4 separate regions of the Homo sapiens genome follow, and all the other regions are linked to region 3. The links are contacts of gene promoters, found by promoter capture Hi-C in blood cells and fetal thymus (Javierre and others, 2016). All regions are on one chromosome and are shown on one strand. The core of a region is centred on a gene start or on the middle of the fragment in contact, and the rest is flanking DNA. Distances in the headings are between cores, read along the strand shown. Region 1 overlaps CDH23 (cadherin related 23). Region 2 overlaps CDH23 (cadherin related 23). Region 3 holds the start of SLC29A3 (solute carrier family 29 member 3). Region 4 overlaps CDH23 (cadherin related 23).

What was found. Contacts are between HindIII fragments. The CHiCAGO score rates a contact against its expected background, and 5 or more counts as called.
Region 1: a contact is called between a fragment that was not itself captured here and the fragment with the promoter of SLC29A3 in region 3, in 1 of 17 cell types (endothelial precursors). The highest score is 5.5, in endothelial precursors.
Region 2: a contact is called between a fragment that was not itself captured here and the fragment with the promoter of SLC29A3 in region 3, in 8 of 17 cell types (total B cells, naive B cells, endothelial precursors and 5 more). The highest score is 9.3, in total B cells.
Region 4: a contact is called between a fragment that was not itself captured here and the fragment with the promoter of SLC29A3 in region 3, in 2 of 17 cell types (megakaryocytes and naive B cells). The highest score is 6.5, in megakaryocytes.

What each region holds. Positions count from the first base shown.
Region 1 is chr10:71,650,853-71,653,552 of GRCh38, reverse strand. The region is part of intron 14 of CDH23 (cadherin related 23); the gene reads right to left. Among named protein-coding and RNA genes, the nearest start is that of C10orf105, 68 kb to the left of the region's middle. The HindIII fragment of the contact is 2,133 bases long and covers 248-2,380 here.
Region 2 is chr10:71,678,266-71,680,995 of GRCh38, reverse strand. It overlaps CDH23 (cadherin related 23), which reads right to left. Exons shown (of 70, transcript NM_022124.6): 17 at 1,504-1,609. Among named protein-coding and RNA genes, the nearest start is that of C10orf105, 40 kb to the left of the region's middle. The HindIII fragment of the contact is 1,597 bases long and covers 680-2,276 here.
Region 3 is chr10:71,317,796-71,320,564 of GRCh38, reverse strand. It overlaps SLC29A3 (solute carrier family 29 member 3), which reads right to left and starts at 1,306. Exons shown (of 6, transcript NM_018344.6): 1 at 1,255-1,306. The coding sequence starts at 1,255. LOC124902445 (a long non-coding RNA gene) reads left to right here and starts at 902. Exons shown (of 2, transcript XR_007062183.1): 1 at 902-1,003; 2 at 1,661-2,596. RefSeq lists a silencer at 1,060-1,509. The HindIII fragment of the contact is 7,819 bases long and covers 1-2,769 here.
Region 4 is chr10:71,584,006-71,586,705 of GRCh38, reverse strand. All of the region lies in intron 9 of CDH23 (cadherin related 23), which reads right to left. Among named protein-coding and RNA genes, the nearest start is that of CDH23-AS1, 73 kb to the right of the region's middle. The HindIII fragment of the contact is 8,272 bases long and covers 1-2,700 here.

The DNA of each region.
Region 1 (2,700 bases), core at 65-2,564, 330 kb before region 3:
AGCACCAAGACTAAGACAGGCAGTGAACTGGCTTTCCTGGATCATCTGGCTGGGCTATTAGGTTTCCAGCACCTTGAGTAGAACCCATGTTAGAGTTCTTGGATTCAGCAGCATGGAGGGACAGGGGTGATCTCTGAGCCTGAAGGCTGGGGGTGTCCTGACAGTTACAGAGCAGAGGGAGAGGCCCTGTGGCCTTACAGCTGGTGGAACAGGCCTGCTGCATTTGAAGTCCTCCAGGATTGAAGCTTGCCTTCAACACGGCCAGCCCAGGGCAATGACATCATACCCACCTTTTCCTTGTGGGGTCAATGCTGTGGGTGGGAGGGGAAGGAGAGATGGGGACAAACAGCAATGGGGCTGACATTGATGCAGCAGGGCTGTCTGCTGATGTGGCAGGAGAGGGAGGCTGGGCTGGACCAGGAGGAAAAGCCAGTTAGCTCTAGGAGGGGGAAGTGAAGTCCTGGGGAATCTTCCTGAGACTTCCAGATGGGAGCTGAGAGAGGAGGGGTAGGGCAGGAGACGGGCTCTAGAGGCCAGTGGGTGGGTGGGGACCCTTGCAGGGTGGGTGGCACGTTCATGTTGCTGGGCATGAAACTAAACAGCAAGAATGGCTCCCCTTTCTCCTTGGACAGTGCAAATTGGAATTAAAGCCTCACCAACCCAGAAGGCCCTGAACCAGCCCCTGGCCCAGTCATCTCACTGGGACCCAGAGGTTCAGTGACTGGCCAAGGTCACATGGCTGCCTGAGGCAGGGCCACAGCTCTGAGGGTGGTGTCCTTGCCCAGGGCCCGTGCTCCCTGGAGGCTCAGCCAGGAGGCCAGGCATGACTTGCTGACATTTCCAGCGTGTGTTCCTAGCCAGCCTCTGTGCTGTGTCTTCATGAATCATTTCATTTGATTCTCACAACAATCCTCCAAGGTAGGCTCCTAGCAGGTTATCTCCCCCAGCTCACAGAAGAGGAAACTGAGGCCCGGTGTCTTGTCCAGGGTCCACTGCGGCAGAGCTGGGCTTGTCCACAGGCCGAAGGGCTGGTGGGCAGCCAGGTGAGACCCTGAAGGCCAGTGATGAAAATACCCACTCCTGCCATCTGTAAATCTTACCTGTTTACACCACATCACTGCAATGGGTCTCCCAACAACCCAGCACTGCAGGCTGCGCAGGCACTACTTTCCCATTTCATAGGAAAAAAGCCAAGTCCCAGAGAAGGAGTGACCAGCTCATAGTAAGACAGGATTGCAGGGACTCCCTGGATGTCTTGTGGCCCTGCCCAAGATGCTGCCAGCCTCCCAAGGACAGGCTGGGAAGAGGGGGCAGGGAGATGAGAGAGGAGCAGGCTTTTAGGCCACCTCCAGCCAGCCCTGTCTGTCTGGAGCTGAGAGGTGGAGCTCTACCCACGGCTCAGCAAACCACAAGCTGGTCCTGGGGCCCCACACCTGCCCAGTCAGGACTTTTCAGGGCCTCTCCTTTCTTGGCTTCCTCCGACTGGGGAAGAAGCCTGTCTTGTCTGAAGTCCATCTTCTGCCCATTTCTGCCATGCCCCACCCCCTGCAGCAGGGATAGAAGGCCTTGGAGCTCAGTAAGCCCTGCGCCAGGGGGGCTGCCACCCTTCCTCAGCACTTCGCCTCTCCCACTGCCCAGAGGACATGGAGCTAATAAATAGAGGGACACGTGCCCCATGCTGCAAGAGGCCAAGCTGGCTCCTCACACATCCTAGGTACCACCTCTGCCAACTGTTTCCCAAACGCCTGCCACCGTCACAAGGATGGAACAGGCAAGGGGGTATGGATGGTTTGATATAGGCCTTCCCCACTATCAGAACAGCATCCCAAAGGGCATATTGTGGGGAGTATCAATTTGGGAAGAAGAGAAACAGCCAAGCCTCTTGTGCTTCAAAGGAGCAGGACCCCACTTCCCCACACATCACACACGTCCTCACTGTACTCCAGCCACGGGGCCTTTGCACATGCTGTTCTCTCCTCCAGTGGTTTTTTTTTTTTTTGAGATAGGGTCTCACTCTGTTGCACAGGCTGGAGTGCAGTGGCTCACGGCTCACTGGAGTGCAGTGGATCACGGCTCACTGAAGTCTCAACTTCCTGGGCTCAAGTGACATTCTCACCTCAGCCTCTACAGTAGCTGGAACTAAAGGTGTATGCCACCACAGCTGGCATTTTTTTTTTTTTTTTTTTGCAGAGACAGGGTTTTGCCATGTTGCCCAGGCTGATCTTGAACTCCTAGGCGCAAGTGATCCAGTTGCCTTGGCCTCCCAAAGTGTTGGGATTCCAGGCATGAGCCACTGCTCCCAGCCTCTTTTCTCCAATGTTATTCCCTGTCTGCCTTCACCAGTTAATGCTTACTCAAATGCCACTTCCTCAGGGAAGCTTTCCTGGACCCCAGGCAAGGTCAGGTACCCTATTAGAGGTTCGCGTACTCCCTGATCTCTCCATCACAGCAAGTAATACTCAGTGTGAAGATTCATTTCGTAGTTAGTCCAGTTTTCCTGGAAGACTATAAACTTTATAAGTACAAGACTCACATCACCATGTGTCCTCAGGGCCATGTGCCTAGCACACAGCAGGTATTCACCAAACGTTTGTTGAATCAATGAATGAATGAATAAATGATTAGGTTACTCTTGTACTTCTTGTACTGTCCAGTGGTGCCCACAAACCCTGCCAGGCCCCAGACACTGGCCAGGCTGCA
Region 2 (2,730 bases), core at 229-2,728, 360 kb before region 3:
AATTAGCTGGGCGTGGTGGCACGACTGTAATCCCAGCTACTCGGGAGGCTGAGGCTGGAGAATTGTATGAACCCACAAGGCGGAGGTTGCAATGAGCCGAGATCGAGCCACTGCACTCCAGCCTGGGTGACAGAGTAAAACTCTGTCTCAAAAAAAAAAAAAAAAAGAAAAAGAAAAAAAAAAAAGAAAGACAGAGGGATGTAGATTTCATAGAGAATGCAATTTCTTTTTCTTTTTTTTTTTTTTTTTGAGACGGAGTGTCACTCTGTCACCAGGCTGGAGTGCAGTGGTGCAACCTGGGCTCCCTGCAACCTCCGCCTCCCAGGTTCAAGTGATTCTCCTGCCTCAGCCTTCCGAGTATCTGGGATTACAGGTGCACACCACCACGCCTGGCCAATTTTTGTATTTTTAGTAGAGACAGGGTTTCACCATGTTGGCCAGGCTGGTCTCAAACTCCTGACCTCAATTGATCCGCCGGTCTCGGCCTCCCAAAGTGCTGGGATTACAGACGTGAGCCACCGCGCTGGTCAGAACTGCAATTTCTACAGTGGCATTTCTCTGAACTGAACTAACTGTGGGGTAGTGGGAGGAATGACCACTGGACCCAGAGTCACTCAACGCACATCGATTCCTTCTGCCCTGGGGGCACCTAACCCAGGCTCCAGGAATCAGAGAAGCTTCCCAAAGGAGGAGGTGTTAAATGAGCCCTTAAAGCTAGCCAGGGGCTACACACTGGACAGCCAAAGGGAGGCAGGACCAAGGGGCAAGGAGGAAGGGCTTTCCTGGCAGAAGGAACAAACTCTGCAAAGACATGGGGGTGAACACCAGTAAGGGGAGACAGTGTCAAAGTGTTCAAAGAGGCTGGACTCTGGTGGGGCAAGGGCTGCTGAGAGCTGAGGCTCGCAAGGCAACCAAGGGCCAGACCACACGGGGACTTGGTGCCAAGCTCAGCAGCTTTGCAGGGTGAGCTCAGGCAAGTTGCTCCCTGTCTCTGGGCCTTAGCTGCTTTATCTGAAAAACAAAATAGTCTCTCTTGGGATCTTGGAGCTTGAGGTTGCTGCTATTTCCTACCAGGGCTCTAGGGATGGGGACCCACAGCAGGCAGCAGGGCATGGTGCAGAGTGCCTGGTCCCACACGGCCGCCCAAAAAGTAGGGAGTCTTGGCTAAAGAGCTTCCATCCCACGGACCTGCCTGCAGCCTTGGTAAGAAACAGAGAACCCCAGAGATTCTGTTAACATCACACTTCTGGCTCGATTGCAGGGCTGGCCATGGCCTAAGAACCAGAGAGAGATCCTGCTGATGAGGGACACAGATGTTGACCCTACGGAAGGGCGACTCAGGCCACATCCTGCTCCACCCCAGGTGCTCCGGGCAGCTTCCTGAGTAGCCCAGAGTGTCAGGGAGACAAGGAGTGCCCGCCTCATCCCCACAAGGGAGGTGTGAGTGCAGAGAGCCCCCCAGCCCTCCTCCTGGCTGGGCCCCGAGTTCTGCCCCACACCTACCTCCATAGCCCTCGTACAGGCTGATGTCGAAGTAGCTGCCAAAGGCAGATGCACTGACAATGCTGTAGGTGATCTGGTTGTTGGGAGGGGAGTCTTCATCTGTTGCCTGAAAGGAAGAGGGCAGACAAGGGCCGTGAGCCTGCAGGAGACTGGGGGCCAGAAGAGGGTGGGCAGCTGGGAGGGTGGGGAAGACTGGCCCTGTTCACAGCTCCTTTTTTGGGTGATCCAGCCCTGGGTCTTGTCCTGGCCCAGGACGCCAGGAGGCACCCCTTGTGCTTCAACTGGAGGCCGCACTCTGGCTCCCAGCAGACGCCCTGCTCCCCTCCATGTGCTGGGTGTGGAGGCAGCCTGGGGAATCTAGAGGGCAGGTGGGAGGCGCAGGAATAATGCAGAGGCCGGGCCTTCCCAGAGGCTGAGACACAATTACCTCCCACCCCCAACCCCAGCTGGAACACCCCCACCTGCAGATGCCCTCCCTGACTCCCGGAGCCGGTTAGGGCCCTAGGGTTGCATACCCCATTGGTCCCCTTACACCCAGTGGTAATTTCTTATCTAATTTCTGCCTCCCTCACTTAGACCGTCAGCTTCATGTGAGCAGGAACCTTGTTTCTTGATTGCTGCTGCATACCTACAGGCCAACACAGTATTTGGCCACAGTGGGTGTCTAATCCATGCATGTTGCATGAAAGCAAGGAGGAAAGAAGGCACCTGGAGTGGGGCCAGGGATCCCTCTACCCCTTGACTGTCTTCTCTGGGAGCTGAATTAATAAGCTTCTTTCCAGGTTGTCCCTCACTCTAGAGCCTCCAGTGGTCCCCACCACTCCGGGTACACCTGGAGCTGAGCAGGGAGGGCAGGGCAGGACAGGGTTGTACGGGGGGCCGTGGCCAGGCTGGGCGGGCACATGTTCTGTTCTTCTTGGTATCCCCTGTGCTCACCCTTCCAGCCTTGCCTTCATCCCTACCTGCTTCAGAAACAAGTTCCAAATGGAGGCTCTGGGTCCCATCCCTTGGGGTAGGCAGCATGGGGAAGGGGGGACATTTAAAAGTCTCTGGTTAAAGGTCACTGAAGCCTAGTGGGGGACTTGCTGCAGGAAGCACTTGGAGAATAGCATTCCGGGACTAGACCTGGCTCTGCTACCCGACTATGTCTTCGTGGGCAAGCCTCCTCCCCTCTGGGTTCCCCTTCTGTAAAATGGGGTTGCACTCCATGGTCTCTGTGGCTCCTTC
Region 3 (2,769 bases), core at 57-2,556:
TCGCTTTTTCCACATGCACCCACTCATAGAGGAAAAGCCATGTGAAGGCACAGCAAGAAGGAGGCTGTCTGCAAGCCAGGAAGAGAGCCCTCATCAGAAACCAAATCAACCAGCACCTTGATCTTGCCCTTCCCAGCCTCCAGATCCATGAGAAACAAATTTTGTTTAAGCCACCCAGTCTATGCTATTTTGTCTGGCACAAAATGGTACAAATGTAACAAGCTCACTTGTTACATTTTAAAAATTAGTGTTTAAAATGTAAAAAATAATCATGACCCACCCACATAGAACAAGAGAGAACCGGCAAGTGGTTCTTTCCAGAGGCTCCAGCTACCTGTGGGGGCGGCTAGAAGGTCCACCAGCCCTGTCACTCAGGACCACACCTGGCTAGGGCCCCCTTCTCAGTTCCTAGCGTCTATTTGTCAAGGCTTGACTGAGCTTCTGAAGAAGGAGCCAGGAATTTTCTCTAACCAGGGTCACAGGCCAGGGCACTGGAGTGAGCAAAGTCTTATTAGTCTTTATAAAAGCTAGCTGCTGGCTTCTGGATTAAAAAATAAAGAGAAAGGCAGGCAAGGAAGTGCCCAACCTTCCCCAAAACAAGCTGGCTGTGGCCTGGAACGTGCTCCTGGGTCACCTGCGGGAGCCCGGCCATGCACAGACAGACAGCCCCACACAAGGAGGCAGGCACTGCTGGGGCCGCGGCAAAACCTCATCTGGGCTGGGAAGCCTGGGTGCTGGTTCCAAGGAGGTTCCTGACTCTGGCTAGGTGGCTCGCCCCTCTGTGCCTCGATCTCCTGGGCTGTGAACCGGGGTGGGGAGCTGGTAGGGCTAACCTGTGGGAAGGCACTGGGAAGCGCAGGGCACCGCCTACTGGCCGCGGCAGAACCGGCTTTGCGGTGTAAACAGCCCCAGCCTCAGGCCCCGCAGCTGGGACCGAGAGAATCAGCCACCGTCTGGATACTTCGGGCCGACGGGTCCATACCAGGCCCCCACCATACAGGCGGTGAGGTCCAGTCTCAGGGAGGAGGAGGGGAGAGGATTTGGGGAAGAGAAGATAGAGACCCAGAAAGAGGGGTGGCAGAGAGCAAGGAGAGAGAGGAGGGACGGTGGGGAAGGGACCACGGATGGGGTAGGGTCCTGCGGCTCCCCTGGCAGCCCGCAGCCGCCCCCAGGGCCCGGGAGGGAGGTCGCTGAGCGCGAGTCTGGGGGCGGCCGGGACCGTAGCCGGAAGAGCCCGAGCCGGCCCGCACTTACTGTCGCCGCTGCGCCACGCCGCCGCTGCCTCCGGCGCACGGCCAGGACCACTGGGCTTGGCAGGCGGCAGGCGGGCTCCTCCCCCGGCCCCGCCCCGCCCCTCGCGGCAGCACGCCGCCGCTTCCCCGTTTGCAAACACGCTTTTTTCCTTTGTCTTCTGCCGGCGCGCCGGGGCTCCCCCTTCTGGCGCTGAGCTGGGGCCTGCGTGCGCCCATTTTATAGGAGAAAAAGTGAGTCACCCAGTCTTAAACGCACTGCCCATGCTTGCGATGGGTGCGCTGCGCATCAGGCCTTTTGGTTGCTGCTCCTTCTTTACCTTGGAGCCAGACCCCACTGTCTCAGACCTCCCCTTTAGCTACTATAACCTGCACCCCAGGACTCAAAGGAGCCCTCATCTTGTCCCCAGGCCGCTGCAGAGACCCCTCTCCAAAGGCCGCTTCTACCCTTACCGGCTGCCGCTGCTCTGGAGGTGAAGCGGGACCCACACCCGGACTGAACTGGGCCTCCCAGGCCAGGCAGCTATTTTCAGTAGACCCAGAACATGGCAGTCAGCAATTCCAGCCCTCACACTTGACCTCAGCCATAGCGTGTAACACACAGCTGCCGCGTGTTCTTTAAGAAAGCAGGGGCCGGGCGCGGTGGCTCACGCCTGTAATCCCAGCACTTTGGGAGGCCGAAGCAGGCGGATCACCTGAGGTCGGGAGTTTGAGACCAGCCTGGCCAACATGGCGAAACCTCGTCTCTACTGAAAATACAAAAGTAGCCGGGCATGGTGGTGCGTGCCAGTGATCCCAGCTATGTGGGAGGCTGAGGCAGGAGAATCGCTTGAACCCGGGAGGCGGAGATTTCAGTGAACCGAGATGGTGCCACTGCACTCCAGCCTGGAGCCTGGGCGACAGAGCAAGACTCCATCTCAAAAAAAAAAAAAAAAAAAAAAAGGCGGAAACCTTCCTGACTCCCGGTCCTGGCCCAGTTGGCCTATTCAGAGCGGGGATCTGGATGCTTCACAGGGCCTGAAGATCTGTGACCATGGATAGTAAATTCTTGCAGTTGCCATCCCAGGGCTCAGGGGTGCCACAGAACCCATTGAGGCTGTCAGTGTGTGGACAGGTTCTCAGAACATCCCCACTCCCTGCCCCAGCCTCTCATTTTATAACCACCATTCCCCAAACACTGGCCTGATCATAAAAGTCTCGAGTACACATCCAGATTCTGGGGACCTCTCCCCAGGAGGGTTGCTGCCACTCCCCAATCCCTGAGGGTGGTGCTGTATCTGCTTTGTTTGCTCTTCCCTCATCGTGGGCACATAATTTGTGTTCAATAAATACCTGGATTAATACAACCCATCACTCAGGGGGTGCAGAATGGGGATCCAGAATGGATCTATTTAACAAGCTCCACCAGCAGGCGAGTTTGGAGACTAGCACCCTAAATTGTCAGAAAGCCCCCCGGCCCAGGAGAGGAAGGGGCTTAGCTCCAGGCTTACAAGCTGAGGGATAATGGTAAAATTACTAA
Region 4 (2,700 bases), core at 127-2,626, 270 kb before region 3:
TGCAGGATTCAAATATGTGGTTCTGGAGGATGGGAGGCAGGGAATGGGGTAGAGGAGGAACACACAGGTGGTAAGGTGTGGGTAAGGTGAGGGTAAGGTGTGGGTAAGGTATGAATAAGGTGTGGGTAAGGCGAGGTAAGGCATGGGTGATGGTCTTGCTCTAGGTGAGCTGGTGAGTTTCACAGGCATCCACAATATTATTAAGGCTAAGAATGAAACAAAAGAGAGCTACACATGGACCAATGTTAATCGTGAGCCGAGAATTACGTTTAAATCAATTCTGTGTACCAGAGGTGGACCAAGTTAAAATAGAAAGAGAATGCAAACTGAATGGTGGCTAATTTCTTATTCCTCCAAAGATCTCAAAGCTCTTGAAAGTCAATAAAAAGCAGTTATCTTACAGATTGAGGAAAAAGCAGAAAAGAAACAAAAAAGAAAAAAAGACAAGTTCCTGTTGACATGTGGTAACCAGAATCGCCCACCAAAACAACCTCCAGCCATGAGCTAGAAACCCCCCAACCCCACAGAGCTGCCTCAGCCATGGCTCTGGCTCAGAGATGTGGTTCCCTGAGCTGAGTGGACCAATAAAAAGAGCCCGTGCAGTCCATGCTTTGCCCAGCTGGGGAAGTGGACTCAGGTCTAGCAGAAGGGAGAGGCCTTGAGGGTGTTTCCACAGCACTCTATGTCCCGAGCAAGGGACAGAGACAGACTCCTGCCCATGGGGAGGGTATGGGGAAGACGAGACGCAGAAAGGGAGAGTCCTAGACTGTGCTTCAGTGAAACCTCTTAAAAGTCCACCCACCAGTGTTATTTATGGGAAGGAAGCAAGGGGCAAGCCACTGTTGCTGACAAAGAGCATACAGGACCTCATTAAAGGAGAGAGGAAGAACAGGGAATCATGAGCATGGCTATAAAGACTGGTTTATCACAAAGGCGAGCTCATGAGAGCATCAGGAGAGGCCGGCTGGCAGGAAGCACACCCTGCAGAGAAGAGGGCGAAAGATCAGGGGGAAGGAAGAAGTGCAGACTTTTCTGTGGCTCATCAGGAGAAAGTGAGTGTTGGTGTGATGCATTATTGCTGTCTCGGCATGATGGTGGGAGAGAACTGCAAATAACAGGCCAGCGTGTTTGTATAATTAAATTAAAAACCCTCTAGAGGCTCTGTCCCTAGATACTCTTGAAAGAAGAGAGCTACAGGATACAAATGGGCTAAACCTGCACTTTGGACAGCAGGTTTGTTCCAGCTTGAGAGAGAATGCTTCTCAACTGCTAGTGGCTGCCAGAGGGCAGGTAAGAAAGGCTTGGAGGCCCATCCTTGTGCTGGGATCAATTAGTGATGTCTGCCATGGATGAAGAATGGGGTGTTTTGGTACATGTGGGTCTAGGGTGGCATTCACAGATATTAACAGGCTTTTCCTATGAATATGCCCCTTTCTGCCTAGGCCACCACCATGATCCGAGAAACCTAGACTCAGACGTTAGTAGTTTCTTTGTCTCCTCCTTTTCCCACATCATCTATTTTCAGTACATCACCAGAGCCTGCTGACTCGGTTCCTGTACGTCACCACAATGACCCCCAGACCTCCCCGCGGCAAGGACAGATTAGAGCCACAGCCTGTTAGCAGATCGCCCTCATTCCAGTGCTTCCTGCTCCAATCCACCCAGAACTGATGAATCTCCTGGTGACCCCGCGTTCACTTCCCCGACCCCAGCTGCACTCAATAACCTACTTCTTTTGCTTTCTCTGTCTTCTAGCAAATGTCCTGCCACCCCTCTCTGATCTGCCCTGGACTCCTTCCTGGTGACCTCTGGCTCCAGCCAGGTGAGCCATTCCCCAAGATGCCCTGAGATGTTTGGGGCTTCCAGGCAGCCATTGTGCTACCCTAAGCCAGGAGCTGTGGTGTGCGATTCAGAGTTCCAAAGCAATTCTGCTTTTCCTGAGTTTTTACTTCTCAGGGGAAGAAAATGCCAAGCAGCTTAATCACAAGGGCTTTGAAGTGTTTCGCACGATGGTCTCCTATGATAGCTGTCCCCCACTAGGCCATGGCCAGAGGCCCGATTCAGTTATTGGCATATGTGGGGGGTGTGAGGTTGTGCAAGTCTGACTGTATCTGATTATTCTCCCTGCGTACACACACACACACACACACACACACACACACAGACTTCCCTTCAAAGCAATCAGTGTATTTTCATGTATTTCAGTATATTTTAAAGCACTCAATGTACCTCCTCACTTGGGTAGCATTAAAATAAAATTCAGAGACAAGCAAGGGAAGGCTCTGTCCTTCACTACCATAGTGCCCCAGTGTGACCTGGAAGTGAGGCCACTGCCTTGAAAGTTGAAAGTGAGGGGTTTCGGCCTGATATTTCTCACCTACCCTTGATTCTAGAGGGTTTCTCAACCTTCTCTTCATCATCACCCACCCCACTCAACCCCTTGCCCCAGGAGCCACTTTAGACATTTTTACGTAATTGCTTTCCTCCCCCGACATGAAATGTCAACACCATGGATATAATGTAAATCTGCTTTAAACATTAAAAGAGTAAGATCTTCCCCAGTACAAAATTTTGCCGCCATTGAGAACACACGCTCCTTTAGACCAGAGCTTCTCAAAGTGTGGTCCCCAGACCAGCAGCATCAGTGTTGCCCGGGCGCACCCACAGAGTTTCTGATTCTTTAGGTTTAGTGGGGATGCA